Regions from separate parts of the Homo sapiens genome. Here all the other regions are linked to region 1. Evidence: promoter capture Hi-C in human tissues and cell types (Jung and others, 2019). All regions are on one chromosome and are shown on one strand. Each heading gives the region's core, a stretch centred on a gene start or on the middle of the fragment in contact. The rest is flanking DNA. Distances are from core to core; before and after follow the strand shown. Region 1 holds the start of RCBTB1 (RCC1 and BTB domain containing protein 1). Region 2 overlaps FNDC3A (fibronectin type III domain containing 3A). Region 3 has its middle 6.0 kb from the start of SPRYD7. Region 4 overlaps CDADC1 (cytidine and dCMP deaminase domain containing 1).

Region 1 (2,606 bases), core at 44-2,543:
AAAATCTCTTTAAAGATGAATATGCTTCCTCTTCAAGAGAAACAGACTAGCGGGTAGAAGAAAAAGGACCCGTCTAGAGTATTAATAAATAGACTGATATTCACACAATGGATTAAATGGATTAAAGTCCATCCCACAGATGAACTGTTATATTAATAGAATCCAAATATACAGTTACATCCTCGACCCTGAAAGCAGTTTAAACGGGTGAAATTCACCCAGTGCTCACTTGAAATGAGTACTCTAAAGTTTAAAGCACCTATAAACTGCCCTCAGGATTCAATCATTTTTCCATTCCTTCCGGCATTATATACTTTGATGTTTTAATGTTATTAGCCCACAATACACACCAGTTTCAGAAACTCAGTTTTTGTCCTCTAAGGGCTTTTAGTCCTCCCAAAAAAAGAATAGGGCAAAAGCAAGGAAGATCATGAATCTGGTTTTCTAAAAGCATTATTACAAGACTGCTTTATAAAATTGTAATCCCCAGCTGCAGAGTTCCGCAGATGGCTTGAAAGTGTCTTACATGCAAATAAATAAAAACAAAAGGCCACTTATGCGAGCAGAACACAGCGTGCTCGATAGTCATCTTAAACCGAGCAGGTAGGTACTTTATCAGAGGCAGACAAGGGAAACGTCACTTATTTAGAGTTCACCGCACGCCTGGATAAAAGTCCTCACTAACAAAATCCCTGCCTTTGTGGATTCTGTGTCGGAAAGGGAAACGATAAAGAATACGGTTTGTGACAGCACTACTCTCAGGAGACGAAGGAGAGATGCTAAGATCTTGGAAAGGAGAGAGAATAGGAAGAGTCGGAGGGGAGATCTCCTCTCAGTAAAACGGCACCCACAGCAGTCAGACTTCAGCTACGAGCAAAATCGAGTCCGTGCACCTCAAAAAAGAGAGGGAGGCAGGGAAAACTTTCCCTCGCCTCTCCCCATCCTTCCCTCCTCCTCGCAGGAGAGCACATTAGCTGAGGTGCTGGCGGGGCCGGGCCGGGGACCCCATCCCTCGCCCCGGACGCAGCGCCCGCAGGGACTGCCCGGGAGCCCGAGCGAGGGAGGCGGGAGGTACAGGAGTAACGGGGCACTCCCGGCCCGGCCTGCGGGGAAGGGAAGCAGGGGCAGGGCCGAGGGGGAAGAGGCCTCCGCGAGCTCGACCCCGCGCCCACACGCTACCTGCGAGGTCAGCTGCTGCCGCGCCGTCCCGCGGGACCGCAGGGATCTCCGAAGCTCCAATGGGCGCAGAAGTGCGAGCGAGCGGCGGTGCCCACCGGCAGCGAAGAGGAGGAGCGCCAGGGCGCCGGGCCCGCCGGGTCACGTGGCCCCGGCCGCCTCACGTGACCCGGTGCAGCGCGCGCCCGGGACGCTACCCAGCCGAGCATCCCGCACCGCCCCGGCCCCGGCCCCGGCCGAAACCCTGCTCTTCGGGCCCTACAACCCGACTTCTTTAGAAGCCGATTGGCCGTCTCAGGCCCGCCCCGAGGCCCTGCCACTGGAGTGTCCCCATGAAATCCGGTGGCTGCTGCCGGGACTTAGAGGCTTTTGTGTCTGAGGAACCAGGAACGCGCGAGGCACGGGCTCCTGCTCTGCTCCCCGAGATGGCTTGGCTGTGGGGAGGGTCGGCCTACCACCCCAGAGACCTAGGACGGAAAAGCGACCGAGAAACTTGGCTCCCTGCCCACTCTAGAGCGCGTCTGGCCCCGGGGCACCACCCAGGTGGTGCTGCCTGGGAGGAAAGGCGGCGGAGCTGGGACTAGTTTGTTTTTACTGGAGACGCGCCTCCCTCCCTCCCCGCCCCTCACTTCCTGATTGAAAGTACCTGAGGCAGGCCAGGGACTAGGGAAGGTGGCAGCTGGACAAAGGTATGAAGGAAGGACGAGATGAGGCACAGGTCCTGGTATTGGAAAGAGGCAGAGGTACCTCGGAAGCATGCCATAGAGGTTAGACGGGACCTAAGAGGGCATCTGGTCCAACCGGATTCGTGTTACCAGCGAGTAAACTGAGGCCAGGAGAGGGACTGCTACGAGCTGCTCCAGCCTATCACCTATAAAGACTACAGTCCCTTTGTAAAATACCATACAGCTCTCGGAGAACTCCCAGTTGGCGCTGCAGGATAAAATCCAAACTTGTTGGCATAGCATTCCAGCCACTTGTTCACTTACCTTTCCCATTTGAGCTCCTAGGAATAAACAGAAAAACATTTCATTTTCTAAATATCACCAGATAACTTCACTTTTGGTAACTTGAATTATTAAAAAAGTCCTACCGTCCCTCATCTCTTGCCACTTCCCCAACATTACTGGAGGCTCTGGCTACAAATAATTTGTTTTCCTTGACTACTCAACTTTCTTTGGATTATTTACTTTTTCTCTAAGTTTCTTTACTCCTTTTTGCTTTGTTCATTCTTTTGTCTGTATCTGAAATGTCCTGAATCACCACCTCCCCCACTTAAAGAAAACCAGGGCCAATGATTAAAAAAAAAAAAAAAGGTATTAAGAAACTAATGCAATAAGAGAATTGAGCTTAGTTCTGTATCTATTCTGAGGTCTCGCTCCTGTTGCACTAGTTCCTGAATAAAATGTTTTTACCACTTCAACTACTGT
Region 2 (2,606 bases), core at 58-2,557, 470 kb before region 1:
GATTTTAGGTTCCTTAAGATAGGAACTGCCTTTTAATTATTTTTGTGTTCTTGTGGTAACTCAAATGTAGTAAGTGTCCCATAAATAGTTGTCACATAAATTAATGAATTTTAACAATAATCTTCCTGGAAGGATTATGTGAGGTTAGTGGGCTACTATTATTAATCTTAATTTAAGATGAAGATTATCTCTAGAAAATGTGTCGTTTTCATTACACAGGGTAATCCAAAGACAAAAATCTAGTCTTATCGTTTTTTAGTTAATTTAAGTTTCCAGTATGTAAGACTTGATTCTTCCACAGAGGGCAAGCCCACAGAGGGCGAGCTGAAGCAGGGTGGGGCATCGCCTCACCCAGGAAGCAAAAGGGGTCGGGGAGCTCCCTCCCCTAGCCAAGGGAAGCCATGAGGGACTGTGCCATGAGGAACAGTGCATTCCGGCCCAGATACCACACTTTTCCCACAGTCTTCGCAACCCGCAGACCAGGAGATTCCCTTCGGTGCCTATACCACCAGGGCCCTGGGATTCAAGCACAAAACTGGGCAGGCATTTGGGCAGACACTGAGCTAGCTGCAAGAGCTTTTTTTCATATTCCAGTGGCTCCTGGAACGCCAGCAAGACAGAACCGTTCACTCCCCTGGAAAGGGGGCTGAAGTCAGGGAGCCAAGTGGTCTAGCTCAGCGGATCCTACCTCCACAGAGCTCAGCAAGCTAAGATCCACTGGCTTGAAATTCTCGCTGCCAGCACAGCAGTCTGAAGTCCACCTGGGACACTCAAGCTTGATGGGGGAGGGGCGTCTGCCATTACTGAGGCTTGAGTAGGTAGTTTTCCCTGAGCAGTGTAAACAAAGCCACCAGGAAGCTGGAACTGGGCAGAGCCCACCGCAGCTCATCAAAGCCACTGTAGCCAGACTACCTCTCTAGATTCCTCCTCTCTGGGCAGGGCATCTCTGAAAGAAAGGCTCCAGCCCCAGTCAGGGGCTTATAGATAAAACGCCCGTCTTCCTGAGACAGAGCACCTGGGGGAAGGGGCAAGTGTGGGCACAGCTTCAGCAGACGTAAACGTTCCTGCCTACCGGCTCTAAAGCAAGCAGTGGATCTCCCAGCAGAGCTCCCAAGCTCTGCTAAGGGACACATTGCCTCCTCAAGTGGTTCCCTAACCCCCGTGCCTCCTGACTGGGAGACACCTTCCAGCAGGGTCGACAGACACCTCATACAGGAGAGCTCCAGCTGGCATCTGGTGGGTGCCCTTCTGGGACAGAGCTTCCAGAGGAAAGAACAGGCAGCAGTCTTTGCTGTTCTGCAGCCTCTGTTGGCGATACCCAGGCAAACAGGGTCTGAGTGGACCTCCAGCAAACTCCAGCAGACCTGCCGCAGAGGGGCCTGACTACTAGAAGGAAAGTAAAAGAAAGGAATAGCAACAACATCAAGAAACACGATGTCCACACAGAAACCCCATCCGAAGGTCACCAAGACAAAAGGCCAAAGGTAGATAAATCCATGAAGATGAGGAAAAACCAGCACAAAAAGGCTGAAAATTCCAAAAGCCTCCTGCAAAGGATCACAGCTCCTTGCCAGCAAGTGAACAAATCTGGACGGAGAATGAGTTTGACGAATTGACAGAAGTAGGCTTCAGAAGGTGGGTAATAACAAACTCCTCTGAGCTAAAGGAGCATGTTCTAACCCAATGCAAGGAAGCTAAGAACCTTGAAAAAAGGTTACAGGAATTGCTAACTTGAATGACCAGTTTAGAGAAGAACATAAATGACCTGATAGAGCTGAAAAACACAGCACAAGAACTTCGCGAAGCATACACAAGTATCAACAGCCAAATCAATCAAGCAGAAGAAAGGATGTCAGAGATTGAAGATCAACTTAATGAAATAAAGTGTGAAGACAAGATTAGAGAGACAAGAATGAAAATGAACGAACAAAGCCTCCAAGAAATATGGGACTATGTGAAAAGTCCAAACCTATGTTTGATTGGTATACCTGAAAGTGATGGGGAATATGGATCCAAGTTGGAAAACACTCTTCAGGATATTATCCAGGAGAACTTCCCCAACCTAGCAAGACAGGCCAACATTCAAATTCAGGAAATACAGAGAAAACCACTAAGATACTCCTTGAGAAGAGCAAACCCAAGACACGTAATTGTCAGATTCACCAAGGTAGACATGAAGGAAAAAATGTTAAGGGCAGCCAGAGAGAAAGGTCAGGTTACCCACAAAGGGAAGCCCGTCAGACTAATAGCAAATCTCTCTTCAGAAACTCTCCAAGCCAGAAGAGAGTGGGGGCCAATATTCAACATTCTTAAAGGAAAGAATTTTCAACCCAGAATTTCATATCCAACCAAACTAAGCTTCATAAGCGAAGGAGAAATAAAATCCTTTACAGACAAGCAAATGCTGAGAGATTTCATCACCACCAGGCCTGCCTTACAAGAGCTCCTGAAGGAAGCCCTAAATATGGAAAGGAAAAACCAGTACCAGCCACTGCAAAAACATGCCAAATTGTAAAGACCATCGACTCTATGAAGAGACTGCATCAACTAATGGGCAAAATAACCAGCTAGCATCATAATGACAGGATCGAATTCACACATAACAG
Region 3 (2,606 bases), core at 73-2,572, 360 kb after region 1:
GTAGCTGGGATTACCGACGCCCGCCACCACAACCAGCTAATTTTTGTATTTTTAGTAGAAACGCACTTTGGGAGGCTGAGGAGGGCGAATCACCTGAAGTCAGGAGTTTGAGACCAGCCTGGTCAACATAGTACTTTTAATTGCTAAGACAGGTAAACCAGGTTGGAGACTTGGAAAATGCAGAGACTTGGCATTAGGAAGAAAAAGAAGCTGGGGTAAAATAAAGGAATTTGAAAAAGGTACAAAAGAAATAAAAATAGAACAATTTTTTTAATATTTAAAATGAAGAAAAAGCAATAGCAAGTGCTACATAAAAAAGGTCTCAGAGAATAGAAAATGTGATTTACCAAAAACTTTCAACCTAGAACTGTACCTTATTCTGCTTACCTTCCATGGAAAATAAAGCAGACTGTCATAAACCAAGGGGATTTCTGTGATCCCTGCCCAACCTCAAGTTCCCTTACTCGAAATGCAAGTACCCTAGTGTATTTCTAAGTACTTTTCCTTGCCAATTTAGATTCTAAGTACTACTGTGGCAATAATTAGCGAAAATAGATACTGAGGATACAAAAGGGAGACAAAGCAAAGGTCAAAACCAAAGTAGTTTTTTGCATTTTCAAAAGAAATAAAGGAAGATGAGGACAAGTAAAGTTCGTCCTTGGATCTATGCTCCTTATTAACAGGAGGGCATTTAAACCTGTGACTTTGTAGAAAGGGCTGATGAGAAGTGTGTACAAAGTTTTCATGGCCAAAGATAAGGCTACATAATCTGGTATTATGGGAGAAAGGCTGGAGAACACTTAGCTGTGCCAAATAGTTCAAATAAAAGCTTCCCAAAGCATCTCAAGCATTCAAGTGATTCTGTGTCTTTGAAGTACAGTAGGGGTCAAGGAGCAAGAAGTCACCATCTCCAGATTATAAAGTGAAAAAGTACTCGACATTTGCAGAAAGGACCAGACAGAAGAAAAAAACACTTCTGGGTATATATAATATCTGCAACCAAACAAAATTATAAATATTTTGTTGAAATTGTGAGAAAGACCCTAAAATATTTCTAGTAACAAGGAAGGTCACATGGATTATTAAAATGTACCCAACATTACTAATTTAGGATAGATACAATGCCATTTAGTCTCTATAATTTTATTTTTGTGAATGTAAAAATATTTATAAAGTTTTTCAAAAGGCTCCACCTATAGTGACAATCCCTTCAAACCTATTTTCTCAATAATGGCCCTGCAGATGAATATCCCCGGGACTGTCAGAAACCTGCCTTTTGTGTTGAGAAGGAACTGCTATACTTCTGTTAAAGCAAGTGTGTCTATGGTTGTAGATATGGTGCTGGATAGAATTAGTGTAGTTCTGGGGACAACTGCTAAGCCACTATGCTTTACAGATTCTGTAACCTGAGTCATAGGGAACGTGGGACTACTTAAAATTGTTGGTGAAAGTTTATGAAACTCTGGATTGTTCGAAAAATGCTCAAAACAAAAAACAACAAAAAAAAGAAACAACCCTATGAGAGTTGGGTATGATAGTACATGTGTGTAGTCCCAGGTACTTGGAAGGCTGAGGTGGGAGAATCACTTGAGCCCAAGGGTTCAAAGCTGTAGTGAGCTATGATGGCACCTGTGAATAGCCACTGCACTCCAGCCTAGGCAGTGTGGCAAGACCCCATTTGTAAAACAAGAACAAAAACGTGAAATAACTTTGAAATACCAAGAGTTAGTGAGAAGAAGCTCCAGGGATATGTTTATGGCCAAGAGAACTTTAGTGTAGCAGAATAGATTTGCAGAGAATTTAGTATAATTAAAATACTTTTTTCTTATTTTTAGCTATTCCAAACTTTTAACCAAATCCTTTTTTTTTGAGACAGAGTCTCACTCTGTCGCCCAGGTTGGAGTGCAGTGGCGCGATTCGGCTCACTACAAGCTCCGCCTCCCGGGTTCACGCCATTCTCCTGCCTCAGCCTCCCGAGTAGCTGGGACTATAGGCGCCCGCCACCATTTTTTTTTTCTATTTTTTTTTCTATTTTTAGTAGACACGGGGTTTCACCGTGTTAGCCAGGATGATCTCGATCTCCTGACCTCGTGATCCGCCCGCCTCAGCCTCCCAAAGTGCTGGGATTACAGGCGTGAGCCACCGCGCCCGGCCCAAATGCTTTAAGAATTATTTTACATCCCTTCTTAAGTAGGTAAACTTCCTGTTTGTAGATATCATGTCTTACATCTAATGCAGATATCAGTCCACATCAAACATTTAATACATTCTTAAAAAAAATATGTGAAGCCTTGGAAAGGAAGAGAGAAGTTAGGAAGATACTTTAATCTTTCCAATTTCTTAGGAAAAAAAGGAAAATTCCATTTTATATGTTCTTAATTCAATGATGTCTGCTATGTAGTGAGCACTCTGTAAATATTTATAAAAACAACAAATGAACGAAGCCCCCCAAATAAGTAAATATGTTTTTTTGTTTTGTTTTGTTTTTTGAGACGGAGTCTTGCTCTGTTGCCAGGCTAGAGTGCAGTGGCCCAATATCGGCTTGCTGCAACCTCCGCCTCCCAGGTTCAAGTGATTCTCCCATCTCAGCCTCTTGAGTAGCTGAG
Region 4 (2,606 bases), core at 43-2,542, 320 kb before region 1:
AGGTATAGTGATACACTATTAATTCCATGTATGCTAATATGAGATAGCATCCATATAAACTACTATCAAGTCTTTATGTGCCAGCTACTGTAATAAGTCTTTTCAAGTTTAACTCACTGAATTCATAATGAATTATGAGGTAGCTACCATTATTTCCCCCATTTTACAAATAGGGAAACTGAGGCTGGGAGACATTATTTAACTTGCCCAAGTTTCTAAAGCCAGTTACTGGCAGAACTGGTATTTGAACCTACTTAATCTGATTCTAGAGCCTGTGCTATATAAACTCTTACCCACTATGCTATGCTATTCATTAGTATCCATTTAACAATTACTACTATTGCAATAGCTGCAATTATCACTCCTATAGTACAGGGGAATCTATCAAAGAAACACTCAGCTTTCACTTATCTATTTCTGAAAACATTTTTTATTAAAGTATAAGGTGCATTTCACTGATCTATTTTTATAATTGTCAATTTATTTAAGTACTTTGATTATATGATGTAAGAAAAATGTTAGAAATGTCTTCTGGAATTAACCAGAACACAATAAATGTGCAAAAATTAGAATGGAATTTACAGAGTTTATAGGCCACTGAAGCCCATCCATGAAACCCTTCATGAAACTCATTCATGAGGCCAAAGGGCAGAACAAACCCTCCCTGAAAATCTCAATTGGGCTTTTAGAATTTAAATTTAAATGTCTATACGAATTCTGCTGCTCAGTTTTGTCCTTCCACTCTTCTTAATTTTCCAGTGATATTGCTGATAACTATTGTTTTTCCTTTTACTATTAATCCAAATATTAAAGATATTTGTAAAAATTTAAAACAATCTCATTCTTACAAATTTTTGTTTTGGAAAATAGTTTTTTTCATAAAGCTAATGTTATTTATATTAATGTATAACAGATTATTGTTATTTTTAATGAATTAATAAATATTTTAAATTTTGTTTTAATTTTCAAGTACAGTAAATATCAGTAGATATATTCCACATAAATAAAAGCTTTTTGGAGTCCTCAATAATTTTTAAGAGTGTTAAGGAATCCTGAGATCAAAAAATTTGAGAAACTCTGCTTTAGCATTTGCCACTAATACACAAATGTCTGTCTAAAGAGGATTTTTCCCCTCTTGAATCAGGATTACTGGAAGCAGCTAAGATGCCTAGATGAAAGGTTTACCATCACTGCTGGTTAGGAAATGGATTATGAGAACTCGAACAGAGGGAAGGTGAAATGCAACCGGAGGAAACACTCTGATATGAGGTTTGAGGCCTTCAAAATTGCTTTGCAGCATAAGCCACAGTGAGTCAGGAGTACCAGGGAGTGGATAGAATGTTTATTTGTTTAACTGAGACTTTTTAGTTCATCAATTATTTTGAAGGGTAGAACACTCTGTGGGCTCTCTTTCTATTTGCTTCTGGGTACAATCACAAAAAAAAAATCTCTCCTAGCTGAAATTACATGCAGTACTAGCAAAGGGGTCTCTTTGTTATAAACTGTTCATTAATTGACGAACATTTGTGTACTTAACTATGTATAAGGCATCTCATCGTTCAATTTCAAATACAAATTAAAATATTTTTTCACATTTGTTATCCTGTTATGTTTTCTCTTTTACAAATTGTCTGTTCGTATCTTTTTGTCTCTCTTTAGGCCTTATTCTTGTCAATTCATATGTGCTCTAATGAATTGAAATATTTTCTGTATATTAAACATTACTAACCTTTCCTCTGTCACACTGATTGAAAAATGATCTATTTAGTTTGTTGTTTTGTCTTTAATTTTGTAAGCTTTAAAAAGTTAATATTGCCCTTCAGACACCATCCCAACATCACATAAGAATTTTTTCATGTTATAAATTCTTTGTGGACATATTTGATAACTGTTTTATTATGAGGAGGACCATAATTAATTCAACCATTCCCCTATTTTGGTCATTTAGGTTTTTGGGTTTGGGTTTTTTGTTTGTTTAACGTCTTTGCTTGCTATTTTAAAGAATGCTGCACTAAATGTGCATGCATGAGATTTCTTCTCTGTATTTAGAATATTTTCCTAGAATGGATTCTCAGAAGAATTCTCAGTCTGTGGAGAGGAACATTTTTAATGCATGGAAGAGGTATTTATTCCAGATAGAAAACTAGGCAATATTAGTTGTTCCCTGTAAGATTTTAAAAAACAGCCATGGCACCATGGAGGACTCTTCGAGTATATAGTTTTAGCGCTGGGCTTTGGGATCACACTTCACAACACCAGTAACTCCACAAATGCATTCCTAGAGGCTCTGTGAGAGGCTGGGTAACTTTTTCTTGAAAAGGCCAGATAATAAATATTTTAGACTTTGCAGGCCGTGTGGTGTCTGTCACAGCTACTCAACTCTGCCACACGAAAGCACCCAAAGACTATATAAGTGAATGGGTGTGTCTGTGTTTCAATAAAGGTTTATTTATGGATACTGAAATTTGAATTTCTGACAGTTCGATGTGTCACAAAATGTTCTTTTGATTTGTCCAACTATTTTAAAATGTAAAACCCATTCTTAACCTGTGAGCTGTACAAAGACTGGCAGTGGACTGGATTTGGCCTGTGGGTGGTAGTTTGCC

Evidence for each region. The method cuts DNA at HindIII sites, captures the fragments that hold promoters and counts their contacts. A contact is called where the count stands out against the background at its distance.
Region 2: a contact is called between a fragment that was not itself captured here and the fragment with the promoter of RCBTB1 in region 1, in 1 of the 25 tissues and cell types used here (dorsolateral prefrontal cortex).
Region 3: a fragment that was not itself captured here is called in contact with the fragment with the promoter of RCBTB1 in region 1 in 1 of the 25 tissues and cell types used here (heart left ventricle).
Region 4: a fragment that was not itself captured here is called in contact with the fragment with the promoter of RCBTB1 in region 1 in 1 of the 25 tissues and cell types used here (IMR-90 fibroblasts).

The regions. Positions count from the first base shown.
Region 1 is chr13:49,584,265-49,586,870 of GRCh38, forward strand. It overlaps RCBTB1 (RCC1 and BTB domain containing protein 1), which reads right to left and starts at 1,294. Exons shown (of 13, transcript NM_018191.4): 1 at 1,180-1,294. RefSeq lists a silencer at 818-1,527. The HindIII fragment of the contact is 9,086 bases long and covers 1-2,606 here.
Region 2 is chr13:49,117,885-49,120,490 of GRCh38, forward strand. All of the region lies in intron 4 of FNDC3A (fibronectin type III domain containing 3A), which reads left to right. Among named protein-coding and RNA genes, the nearest start is that of MLNR, 100 kb to the right of the region's middle. The HindIII fragment of the contact is 4,000 bases long and covers 1-2,606 here.
Region 3 is chr13:49,941,016-49,943,621 of GRCh38, forward strand. No RefSeq gene overlaps it. Among named protein-coding and RNA genes, the nearest start is that of SPRYD7, 6.0 kb to the left of the region's middle. The HindIII fragment of the contact is 6,546 bases long and covers 1-2,606 here.
Region 4 is chr13:49,264,735-49,267,340 of GRCh38, forward strand. The region is part of intron 4 of CDADC1 (cytidine and dCMP deaminase domain containing 1); the gene reads left to right. Among named protein-coding and RNA genes, the nearest start is that of CDADC1, 18 kb to the left of the region's middle. The HindIII fragment of the contact is 5,389 bases long and covers 1-2,606 here.